Linked DNA regions of Homo sapiens: regions 1, 2 and 4 are each linked to region 3. The links are contacts of gene promoters, found by promoter capture Hi-C in human tissues and cell types (Jung and others, 2019). All regions are on one chromosome and are shown on one strand. Each heading gives the region's core, a stretch centred on a gene start or on the middle of the fragment in contact. The rest is flanking DNA. Distances are from core to core; before and after follow the strand shown. Region 1 overlaps PIK3C2G (phosphatidylinositol-4-phosphate 3-kinase catalytic subunit type 2 gamma). Region 2 has its middle 150 kb from the start of CAPZA3. Region 3 holds the start of CAPZA3 (capping actin protein of muscle Z-line subunit alpha 3). Region 4 overlaps PIK3C2G (phosphatidylinositol-4-phosphate 3-kinase catalytic subunit type 2 gamma).

What was found. Contacts are between HindIII fragments. The study calls those that stand out against the background at their distance.
Region 1: a fragment that was not itself captured here is called in contact with the fragment with the promoter of CAPZA3 in region 3 in 5 of the 25 tissues and cell types used here (bladder, dorsolateral prefrontal cortex, lymphoblastoid cells and 2 more).
Region 2: a contact is called between a fragment that was not itself captured here and the fragment with the promoter of CAPZA3 in region 3, in 7 of the 25 tissues and cell types used here (adrenal gland, bladder, dorsolateral prefrontal cortex and 4 more).
Region 4: a contact is called between a fragment that was not itself captured here and the fragment with the promoter of CAPZA3 in region 3, in 2 of the 25 tissues and cell types used here (dorsolateral prefrontal cortex and mesenchymal stem cells).

The regions. Positions count from the first base shown.
Region 1 is chr12:18,604,249-18,606,948 of GRCh38, reverse strand. All of the region lies in intron 30 of PIK3C2G (phosphatidylinositol-4-phosphate 3-kinase catalytic subunit type 2 gamma), which reads right to left. Among named protein-coding and RNA genes, the nearest start is that of PLCZ1, 130 kb to the left of the region's middle. The HindIII fragment of the contact is 5,439 bases long and covers 1-2,700 here.
Region 2 is chr12:18,887,257-18,889,956 of GRCh38, reverse strand. No RefSeq gene overlaps it. Among named protein-coding and RNA genes, the nearest start is that of CAPZA3, 150 kb to the right of the region's middle. The HindIII fragment of the contact is 5,934 bases long and covers 1-2,700 here.
Region 3 is chr12:18,736,705-18,739,404 of GRCh38, reverse strand. It overlaps CAPZA3 (capping actin protein of muscle Z-line subunit alpha 3), which reads right to left and starts at 1,286. Exons shown (of 1, transcript NM_033328.3): 1 at 217-1,286. The coding sequence starts at 1,136. The coding sequence ends at 237. It overlaps PLCZ1 (phospholipase C zeta 1), which reads left to right and starts at 1,393. Exons shown (of 15, transcript NM_033123.4): 1 at 1,393-1,473; 2 at 1,896-2,044. The coding sequence starts at 2,034. The HindIII fragment of the contact is 1,043 bases long and covers 831-1,873 here.
Region 4 is chr12:18,553,965-18,556,664 of GRCh38, reverse strand. The region is part of intron 26 of PIK3C2G (phosphatidylinositol-4-phosphate 3-kinase catalytic subunit type 2 gamma); the gene reads right to left. Among named protein-coding and RNA genes, the nearest start is that of PLCZ1, 180 kb to the left of the region's middle. The HindIII fragment of the contact is 3,052 bases long and covers 1-2,700 here.

The DNA of each region.
Region 1 (2,700 bases), core at 198-2,697, 130 kb after region 3:
GTAACCTTAATTTTTCTTTTGATTTGTATCGCAACATCGTTAAAATGAGAAATTTAGTTTTTTTAATTAAAAATTTATTGTTTACTTCCCAAGGATTAAACATAATTTATAGTTTTACTAATATTTCCCTTATAATCTTTGGTTGTATGTTATCTGGGGTAATTTAGAGATCAATTTATTAATAACAAAGAATTTGTCAATGGTCATCAGAAAGTCAATCTTAACTTTCTAATCTTCTCTAAGATTTGAAAATTATACCTGAGCAGTGTAGTTACACCTGATCAGTATAATTTTCAAATATATAACTTTTCAAAGCCTTCTACATGTTTATTTGAATAATTTATACATTGTATGAGGTGATATTAATTTTATTGTTAATAATATGGATTTGTGACATTGAAAAGGATGTTTTTTACAATTGCAATGGTAATATAAGAAAAAATCACTTATAATATCTTGATTACACTAACTGGGAGAGACTATATAGACTAACACAGAGATACTATGAGATAGTTCTTAGTAAGACTGAAGTAAATTGCATTTCATAATAAAAAGATGTTTGGTATAAAGGTGCTAAAAATGCTGATGACGTTTTGAGGCACAACGAACATTATATTTGAATTAAAGAGTGGAAGAATTGTTAAGTAGACAGCCAATGTATTTAATCAGAGAAGTTTTAATTCAAAGGTAGAAAATTAGCATAAATTTGTGATTGACTGCCTAAATAGTAAAAGTACAATTGCCACTTGAACTGACTGAAGATGATAGTTCTCCCTCCACCTCTTGCTCAAGATTAGTAACTAAAGTGTCCATCAAAACATGCCGGAGTTCAGAACCCAGTGAAAACTCACACCACTAGGAATTGACACTCAGTAGTCAATGTAGCAGTAGGAGTAGAGAGGCTTATTATTTCTGTAGCTTTGACTGTATGCCAGGCTAAGAGCTTTATGTACAGTAACGCATTCAATCATCATAGCAAATCTATGAAATTTGTATTATCTCCATTTTACACATGAGGAAACTCAGGCACTTGGTCCAAGGTCATAGAGACAATAAACGGTGCAGGTTTAAGTGATCTCCAAAGCCTGTGTTTATAAGCGCCTGGTTTATAAGCACCATGCTGTAGAGAGTCAAGAAAGGCGGCTACAACATAAGAAAAACAGGTTAAATGAACTCAAGAGGGACATTTGTGAATAGCTTAATATGTTCAAGAAGACGCTAAGATATTTTGGTCTTCTGCTTCAAGTTAGTCTGAGGGATTCAACTATGCTTAGATTAACCATTTATAGTCACCCCAAGAGCTGTTAAAATATTTTTAATTTTAAGGATGACTGTGTTCATCAAGGATATAGGTCTGTAGTTATCTTTTTTGGTTGTGTCCTGTCCTAGTTTTGGTATTAGCATAATGCTGGCTTCATATAATGAATTAGGGAGAGGTCCTTCTTTCTCTATCTTGTGGAATAGTGTCAAAAGGATTGGTACCAATTCTTCTTTGAACGTCTGATAGAATTCTGCTGTGAATCCATCTGATCCTGGATTTTTGGTCAGTAATTTATTAACTACCATTTTAATCTCACTGCTTATTATTGGTCTGTTCAGGGTATCTAATTATTCCTGATTTAAGCTACAAGGGTTGTATTTTTCCAGGAATTCATCCATGTCTTCTAGGTTTTCTAGATTATGTGTGTAAAGGTGTTCATAGTACCCTTGAATGATCTTTTGTGTTTCAGTGGTATCTGTTGTAATATCTCCCGTTTCATTTCTCCATGAAGTTATTTGGATTTTCTTTCTTTTCTTGGTTAATCTTGCTAATGGTCTATCAATTTTATTTGTATTTCCAAAGAACCAGCTTTTTGTTTCATTCATCTTTTGTAATTTTTTTGTTTCAATTTCATTTAGTTCTGCTCTGATCTTGGTTATTTCCTGTCTTCTGCTGAGTGTGGGTTTGGCTTGTTCTTGTTTCTCTAGTTCCTTGAGGTGTGACCTTAGATTGTGTGTGTGCTCTTTCAGACTTTTTGATGTAGGCAGGCTGGGAACTTTCCTCTTAGCACAGCCTTAGCTGTATCCCAGAGGTTTTGATAGGTTGTGTCATTACTGTCATTCAGTTCAAAGAATTTTTTTAATTTCCATCTTGGTTTCATTTTTGACCCAACACTCATTCAGGAGCAGGTTATTTAATTTCCATGTATTTGTGTGGTTTTGAAGGTTCCTTTTGGAGTTGATTTTCAGTTTTAATCCATTGTAGTCTGAGAGAGTGTTTGATATAATTTCAATTTTCTTAACTTTATTGAGGCTCATTTTATGGCCTGTCATATGGTCTATCTTGGAGAAAGTTCCAGGCACTGTTGAGTGGAATGTGTATTCTGTGGTTGCTGGATGAAATGTTCTAGATATATCTGTTAAGTCCATTTGCTCCAAGGTATAGTTTAAATTCATTGTTTCTCAGTTGACTTTCTGTCTTGATGACCTGTCTAGTGCTGTCAGCAGAGTATTGAAGTCCCCTACTATTATTGTGTTGCTGTCTATCTCATTTTTTAGGTCTTTTAGTAATTGTTTTATAACTTTGGGAGCCCCAGTGTTAGGTGCATATATGTTTAGGTTTGTGATAGTTTCCTGTTGGACAAGGCTTTTTACCATTATATACTGTCCCTCTTTGTCTCTTTTAACTGTGGTTGCTTTAAAGTTTGTTTTGTCTGATAT
Region 2 (2,700 bases), core at 161-2,660, 150 kb before region 3:
TAGAGGTTTTACTTTTTATTATTTGCCATTATATCTAGAAGCAAAGTTGCCAATTATGATCCTTGAGGGTTATTTATATCATTTGAAATATTTTAAAGCCTTCTGAATCAGTTGTTTAGCTCAGGCTAGAACATATGCTCTAGTTAGAATTAGGGGCATAGTAATCATTCCCTCAAATTTTTAGTGAAGTTTAAGTGTTAGAGAAACATTCCAGATTGACTGATGATGTTATCTTAGAAGACATCATAAACACTGATAAGTACACAGAAAACCTGTCTACTTCGACCACACTCAGAAATAATAGGCAACAACTATAAAACTCTAAACCCATAGAAGGAAAGCATATCAGGAAAATATACTCAGCAAACAACAGAGATTGAAAATAGTACATTATATAAAAATTGTGCTATAGTGTAGCATAATTGCATATACATTGGTAATAGTGTAGACTGTAGATTACAGCAGCATCATGCAAATGAAGGGAAATGCTGTGTACAGCTAGAAATAAAGCCTTGGTTATGAAGAGTACACAGACTGTATAATACATTGGCAATGGGCAACAGAGATTCTTCTCGATTTCATAATTTTATGAAATGATGAATGACTACATGTGTGATATTGAATATTGAACATTTATGTTTGGAGACATATACACTGAAGGTGGTTTAGAAAAAAATAACAAATACTAATACTGCCAGGAAAGTTAGGCATCAAGATGTAAGTACAAATTCACTTCGGTTCATATATACATGTTTACAGCATTTTGCCATTTAAGTGAATGTCATGGAGTTCAACCTCAGAGTATAAGACAAGGTGACTCAAAATCCAGACCATGCTGATACTATAAAATGTGTCTACACAATCGTATTTGTTGAATACCCCTGTCTTTGTTTGTGCTGCTATAACACAGTACCTGAGACTGGGTAATTTACAAAGAACAGAAAATTATTTCTGACAGTCCTGGAGGCTGGAAGCTCTAGAACAAGGCACAGGCATTTGGTGTCTGGTCAGGGTTGCATCCTCCAGCAGGGAAGAATGCTGTATTTTCACATGGAAAAAGCTGGGAGGGTGAGAAAGGAAGAACTCCTTTTGCCAAGTCCTCTTACAAGGGCGTTCAATCTCGCCCACAAGCGATGAGCCCACATAGCCCAGTCGCCTGTCAAAAATCCTGCCTCCCAACATTACCGCATTGGCAACACCTGAAATTTAAAGGGGGATACATTCAAATCACCTCATTCTGCCTGACCCCTCCCCCGCAAATTCATGTTTTCTCAGAAATTCACTCACTCTCTCATTCAACACACATTTATGAATTAGTTTAGTCAACAAACATGAATGAATGAATGAAGACAGTGGACTATAGATTGCAGCAGAGCCATGCAGATGAAGGCAAATGCTGTGTATAGCTAGAAATAAAGCTTTGGTTATGAAGAATACAGATCTTTTCAAAAATTATTCAAAAATTGTACATGGGAATTTTTTAAAGCATCTGGATAAATTAATATAAAACATAATACAGAGGGCAATTGTGTATAGGGAAATGGGAAGGATGTTTTGACAAGCTTTAATTATATCCCAGCCCAAAGACAAAGGTCTTATCTAGAAGCAGGTTACAAGAAGAGCAGAGGCAGAGAGCAGGGGATTATTATTCAACCCTACTGTGATTCACCCTTCATTTGGATTCAGATTGGCTTGGCCTCTACTCTTAGCCCAGCTGTGTCTCCACCCACCGGGGAAAGAGTGGAGTCAAGGCAATTATCCTGCTAATTTATCTAAAAATGGCAAAATTGAAGAAATAGTTTTCTCAGCTCTCTCTGAATTATCCAGGCAGGGGGTCCAGCATGATTACGCTTCTGAGGGAATCTTTTCCTCCCTTTCATTTTGCAACTGTGTACACAGGCTCTTTCTCCCATCTCTGCAGAGGAAGTTTGCCTTCTGTTAAATATTTTGAATCCTGTGTCTTTATAATTTGGCCATGAGGTGACTATATGTATCTGAGAAGTTCCACGTCTAAGACACACACACACACACACACACACACACTCACAAAATGGAGATCCATTCCTATAATAATTCTCTATATTTCCCAAGTGCCAGTTCAAGAGCAAAGGCTTGTAACTGCGTGGACCAAGATTTGCTGGAGGTTTACTTTAAAGGCTTACTCTAAGCTTGTTTTTCTAAGCAGATTCTATGCTCTTTGATGGGAAGGACCATGCCATTTATTTCTAATAGCAGCCTCCGTAATACTTAAAATGGTGCTAGTCACATAGCTGTTTTTCAAGAAAGTACTTTTGAAATTAAAATCTCAGTGTAGTGTTTATTTAATGTGGTGTTAAATCTTCTAAGCAGAGTGTTGCCGAGTTCCTGGCATGTGTGACACTGACGTAGGGATGGAGACATGCTTTTTTTTTTCTTTTTTCTTTTTCTATAGCCTCATACTAGAGGTGAGGTGACATGGTTTATAGGGGCTACCTGGCATATCTTAATCTGTTCATGCTGTGGTGAGGACAGCGGAGGCAGAGCCCAGCTAAGACATGGGAGCTCTGTGGATGGCTATAAGAATTCAGTAATTCTTCAAACTGCCATTCTTTGAATATTCCTTCAATATTTATTTTAAGAAACTACTGAATAAAGTATGAAAGAAGGATAAAGAAAGAGAACCAGTTGTGGTAGTTCTCAGGTTTTCTATAATAATCACCA
Region 3 (2,700 bases), core at 37-2,536:
GTTTCTAACAAATGTCTTGGTCTTTATGATGGTCACCACCATGAAACACAGTTACTTTACACTTTCTTGCCTTGTTCATAAATATTCCCCAAGTAAAATTACTTGCTACACTTTTCCCATTTAAATTTGCATTGGCTAAGTGAGAGACATCTCTACAGATTGCTCAATTTTAGGAAAATAACCATTCCCAAGAAACACAAACAAGTCAAATCAAGATAGTTACCAGGAGCAATTCTTTATATTATCCAGTTGCACAACACACTTCTTGAATAAATGACATATCCTAATTTAGGATACATCACCAGATTCAAGTCAGAGAGTATCCTGTGCCAGTCAATAAGAGTGCGGGTCACTGGAAGATCCCTTCGTAGAATTTTTCTCAGGGCTTCATTGGATAACTCCTGTAATTCTTCCAAGACTGCAGCTTGAAATTTGTTCTCTTGCTCTTCCACAAGCCTTGCAAAACTTAGAGCCAGTTGAGCTTGGTTAACTATTTCCAAGCTTTCTTTCAGGTCCTTGGATATTTCAATATGAAGGTTGACACACCTGAAGAAGTGAGCTTGCACAAATATTCTTCCCGTTACTTGGGTTAGAAATGGGTTAACTTGGAAAATCCATTTAGATTTCCAAAGTCCGTTCCAGCACTCTCCTGTTTCATAGTTGTGATCTTCAATGCAAGCTATCAAGTACTCCTTACTTTTGACAGTTTTTCTCAGCATGTTGCAATTTCCTTTTGGATAGTGGTCATTCACATACAGTTTTAAGGCGCACAGAAGAACAACTCTCAGGTATTCTGCCTCATTCTGAATGATACCATGACTTTGGATGTCTTTCAGCTGATTTTGAAGCAGGTCATATTTGAAAGAAAGTTTGCTTTGATGGTCAAAAAATCGGTAGTCGCCCATTACATTGTGGTGAGACAAGAGTACTGGATTTCCATCGATGCAGAGTGGTACAGAATATTTTTGGCAGTGTTGGTGGCCTGCACACTCACCTTGGTGGTGCATAAGTTTTTCATCACGGATAAGCAGACAGAGATCATCAAAGGCATTTACAAATTCCCCTGGAGGGGCCTGTAATAACAGTCTGCGAATTACTCTTTCCTTGTCCTTCCTGCTCAGCACGCTAAGTGTCATGTTTGGTTGCAACAGAAGCAAAGCTTCTGAAATGAGGAGTGTTCAAAGGATAAGAAAACATTCCATGAGCCACCTTTCCCATCAAGGTGTTAACATTCAAGCTGAAGGTTTTTATGTCTATCCATGAAAGCAGGCAGTCTGGCAAGGTCTGAGCCTCCTGATGAGGTCATAAGAAGCTTTCCTTGTGAAGTGTGGAACCTCTGATGATATCACAATGGGAATTCAGACCAAAAGGAAAAAATGACAGTCACCTGACAGTGTGGTGCCCAGCCAACCAGCTATACCTCTTTTGAAGATTTTAAGAACTTAGCCTCCTGAACAGTCTTCTTCGAAAGTGGTGTGTCTCTGTGTGCATTATATGTTGTCAACGATCTAGAGAAGCAGCCCAAAGTTTCAAGAGTGACAGCACTTTGCAACTTCAGGAATCACAATGGTGTTGATTTATACTCAGGCTCTCAGAGTAGCTGCCCAAACCCACTGGAAGCATATTATGATGAAAGGTTTGAGGGGTTTAAACAAAGTAGTAAAAAATAAAAGGAGATACAATGGCAGTTCATGGAAAAATGCCAGACATCAGGGAAAGCTGTGTTTTCAAATATTGTGGGTTTGGAGGTGGTCAGAACGTAAGAAGCCAAACAGTTTCAAGGGCAGGGTAGTGCAGGTACCACATCTTGCATACTGTTTCTATGGTTAAGTGTGAGCTAGCTTCAAAGAACGAAGGCAAAAAAAACCACTGTGTGTTCTCTGCTTTCTCCCTAGAAAAGTGGTAACAGCTGATGAGTATCAAGAAATTATTTTCTGCAAAGGGGCAGAGTTAATTGTATTTGGAACCCATGACAGCACCTACTGGGGAAAGACTTCTAAGTGAGGAGAAACGGCTCTACAGGTCATGAAACTATGGAAATGAGATATCCATTGAGAGCTTCTTTCTGCTCCTCTTCTTCTTTCTCCTACTTATCCTCTTTACTTGATGCTGTTATTCTTTTCGAGGAGTTCTGAATTTAAGTCCTCTTCATTTAAGTTGAACTGCTTTTCCCTGTTTGTTCTGAGCTTTTCTAACTTTCCCTGCATTCTGGTATCTTTTTCTTACAAGAACATGAGCTTTGCTGGATTAAGTCATAACTATTAAATTTAAGGAGATCTCATTAATTCGTTCTAACAATCTGAAACTTAGTAGTTTTGCACAATTTTTACCTATACCTTTTATAATTTTAGTGATAATTGTCATTATCTCATTTCGATCTTAGTTTTTCAAATGGAAGTGTCCTAGTTTTTGTAGTTTATCTATGATAAGTAAGCTTTTAAAAATTTTTTTCGTTTTTCATACCAAATATACACTCACCATGGTATTTCTGATGCTTTTTGATGGTACTGTCTTGAGTGTGTGTGTAGCTGGGCATTGGACTAATGTAGTAATAATAACTTTATCAGTCATGGTTACTATTTATTGAACACTAAGTAGCAGAAACTGTGTTCGGTGGCATATTAGGAATTCATCTAATGCTTCCACTTTCCTTAAGATTCAGGGTTAATTTGCTCACCTTTCTGGAAGAGAGAACTAAAA
Region 4 (2,700 bases), core at 75-2,574, 180 kb after region 3:
CCATTCATTCATTGAACATCGATCCAACAAACATTTACTGAACACATTTTATTTGCTGGAGTGAAAAGCTTTAGGGTGACAGCATGCACTCACTTCTCATGAAGATATCAGTTTTAAGTTTTGTGAATCATAAATGTTAAGTTTTGATGAACTCACCCTCACAAAAATCTCAACTATGCCCATACCTTATTCTTACATTGCCCAACAGTTAGGATGTAAGAAGTCTGAAGATGAAGGGTGAGACTTTATGGTCAGCCCATGGTTTGGGGGCAGACTTTCACTCAAATCCATCTCCTATCTCTCAGGTGTCAGACTTAACGGGTCAGACAAAACAGTGCTGTTAACTGTAATTGGACTTGGGACTGGGGCTCTGAGTGTAGTCGGTTTCAGGCCTCTGTGAGGATCTAATTTATCCAAGTAATAGCTCCCTGATTTATTTTGTTTAATGGCAGCATTAGCAGGATTATGCTTTGGATTATCCTTATATTACAGGAATAAAGCAGCAGCTGGGAGGATTTTAGCTCTTAAGTTTCCTAAGGGAAGTCTCCAAGCAGTCTTGATAAACACTTTTAACTCTCCCTTGCTAGGCACTATTCTATGTGCTGGGAGGTAAAGAAGAGAAACCAAATTTCTGCCCTGAGGAAGTATATATCCCTTGGCAGGTAGTACACTAAATGCTTCATGTTAATCTTTTCATCCTTAGAGAAGAGCAGTCCAATTATTTCAGCAATAGATAAGAAAATGACCAGGAGAAGTTAAATGCATACCAAAGGTGACATCAACTAAGAAGTAGTAACTGAAGAATTCTACTCATGTTTATCTGATTCCTTAGTCTTTGCTCTCACTGTGGATTTTAAAAAGCAAACAATAATTCAATTTTGTCTTTCAGAGAAAAATAAGCCAATAACTTGTGGAATTCTCAGGTGGATCAAAGGTACTAAGACAATGAACCTTTGATTTTTACATAGAAATAACCCTTAGGTAAAAAAAATGTAACATATTTCTAGCTGCCAAGGAACATAGTCTAAAGGGACCTATAATAAGCATAAAATTTCTTAAGCCTTAGGTCCTATCTTAAAAAATGTGTATACATTGTATTCTACTTCATAATACATGCACTTTTTATACAAACTAAATATTTTAATTGCTTATCATCAGAAACAATTGCTTCTAACAGGTTTCTTAGCACTGTGTGTGTGAATGGGCAATTGAGTCTATCAGTCTCAGAAAACTGAGTTGAATCCAGAGCTCTGATCTTCTGTGTCAGGTTCAGCATCTAGGCAGATTATTTTTTCTCAAATTAAATATAAATTCACATTTATGTTGATATGTGACTACAAATGGCAAACATTTTTCGCTGCTTTATGAGCTACATCAGACTAAGCATTGAGGAGAGATGACTACGATGCCATTGGCAGTTGAACCAAGGTTCTTAGGCAACACCTGATGGAGATTTCTATGACAGCGTATTTCAATTTACAGTTTAAATTGTTCATATATTTGGCAGTTGGATAGAATAACTGTTTCAATGGTCAGTCTCTTTAATAGTCACAGGAAAATATTTCTCATAAGGCTTCTGTGAAGGAATTTGCATGAGAACATTCTTTATTTTACCACTGATACTGTAAGTTCATAATATATAAATACAGGAAGAGTTGCAATTGACTGACTCCCCATGAACAAATTTCTTCATCTAAATCTCAAACTTCATTTCATTGCAGTATTCTGGCATGTGCAAGAAACACATTACTTTGTTTTTTGTATTGAAGTTACTGACTGAGTGTCCAGCTTTACAAGTCACTCTTAATCATTCAAGGGGAACAATGAATTAATAAAACTTTGTCATAGTTTCTTTTATCGCATAAAGAAAATCAGTAGTTCGGCATTGAATTTGTAATCTCTGAAATATATGACCAGTGCTTTCTTTTACTTAAGCTTATGAGTATGCTTTCGGATAATTCCTATTTTACTACAAATTCATACTGCACTAAGTATTCAAACACATATTTTTTAAGCAAAAAAATTTACTATTCCTAAATGAGCTCAGTGACAATCATTGCTAATGTATTCTGGGTACATGATAAAACAATTCATTTCTATGCACTTTTATTCTTAAAAATTCAAAATTGCACACATGGAAAAAGCACATGATGATTTTGGTTGCACATGTATGTAATGTGTAGGTACACATTTGACTCCAAACTTTACAGTTTATATTCTAATCCTTTAAACAAAATAAGATACTAAAAAGGATATGTCACATGAATCCTTGGGGCTTTGATAGCGTGGTATGCCAATTTGAGAAACACAGCTATAAGCATGTAGATGTTTTTCTTATGATGGTCTTTCAACTAATCTGAAGACACTAAAGTTAAAGAACATTTATATTTATCTGACAGTCAGGACATTAAGAGTTCCATATGCAGAACTTTTTTCCACATGATTTGGCATAGTTGTGTCCTGGGAAGAGCGCTCATTATGCAAGAAATAAACCTTGTTCTAATCTGTACTCACTAGGTCTACCCATGATCTCAAGAAAGTAATTGTTGAACAATTTTAGGATATTCAACTGTTGCATCTATAAAATGCAGTTGGTGACTCATGCCAGTGATCTCAAGAAAGTCATTGTTGAATGACTTCAGGAGACTCAATTGCTGTATTTATAAAACATAACTGATTGCTAAGCCATGCCATTTCCCA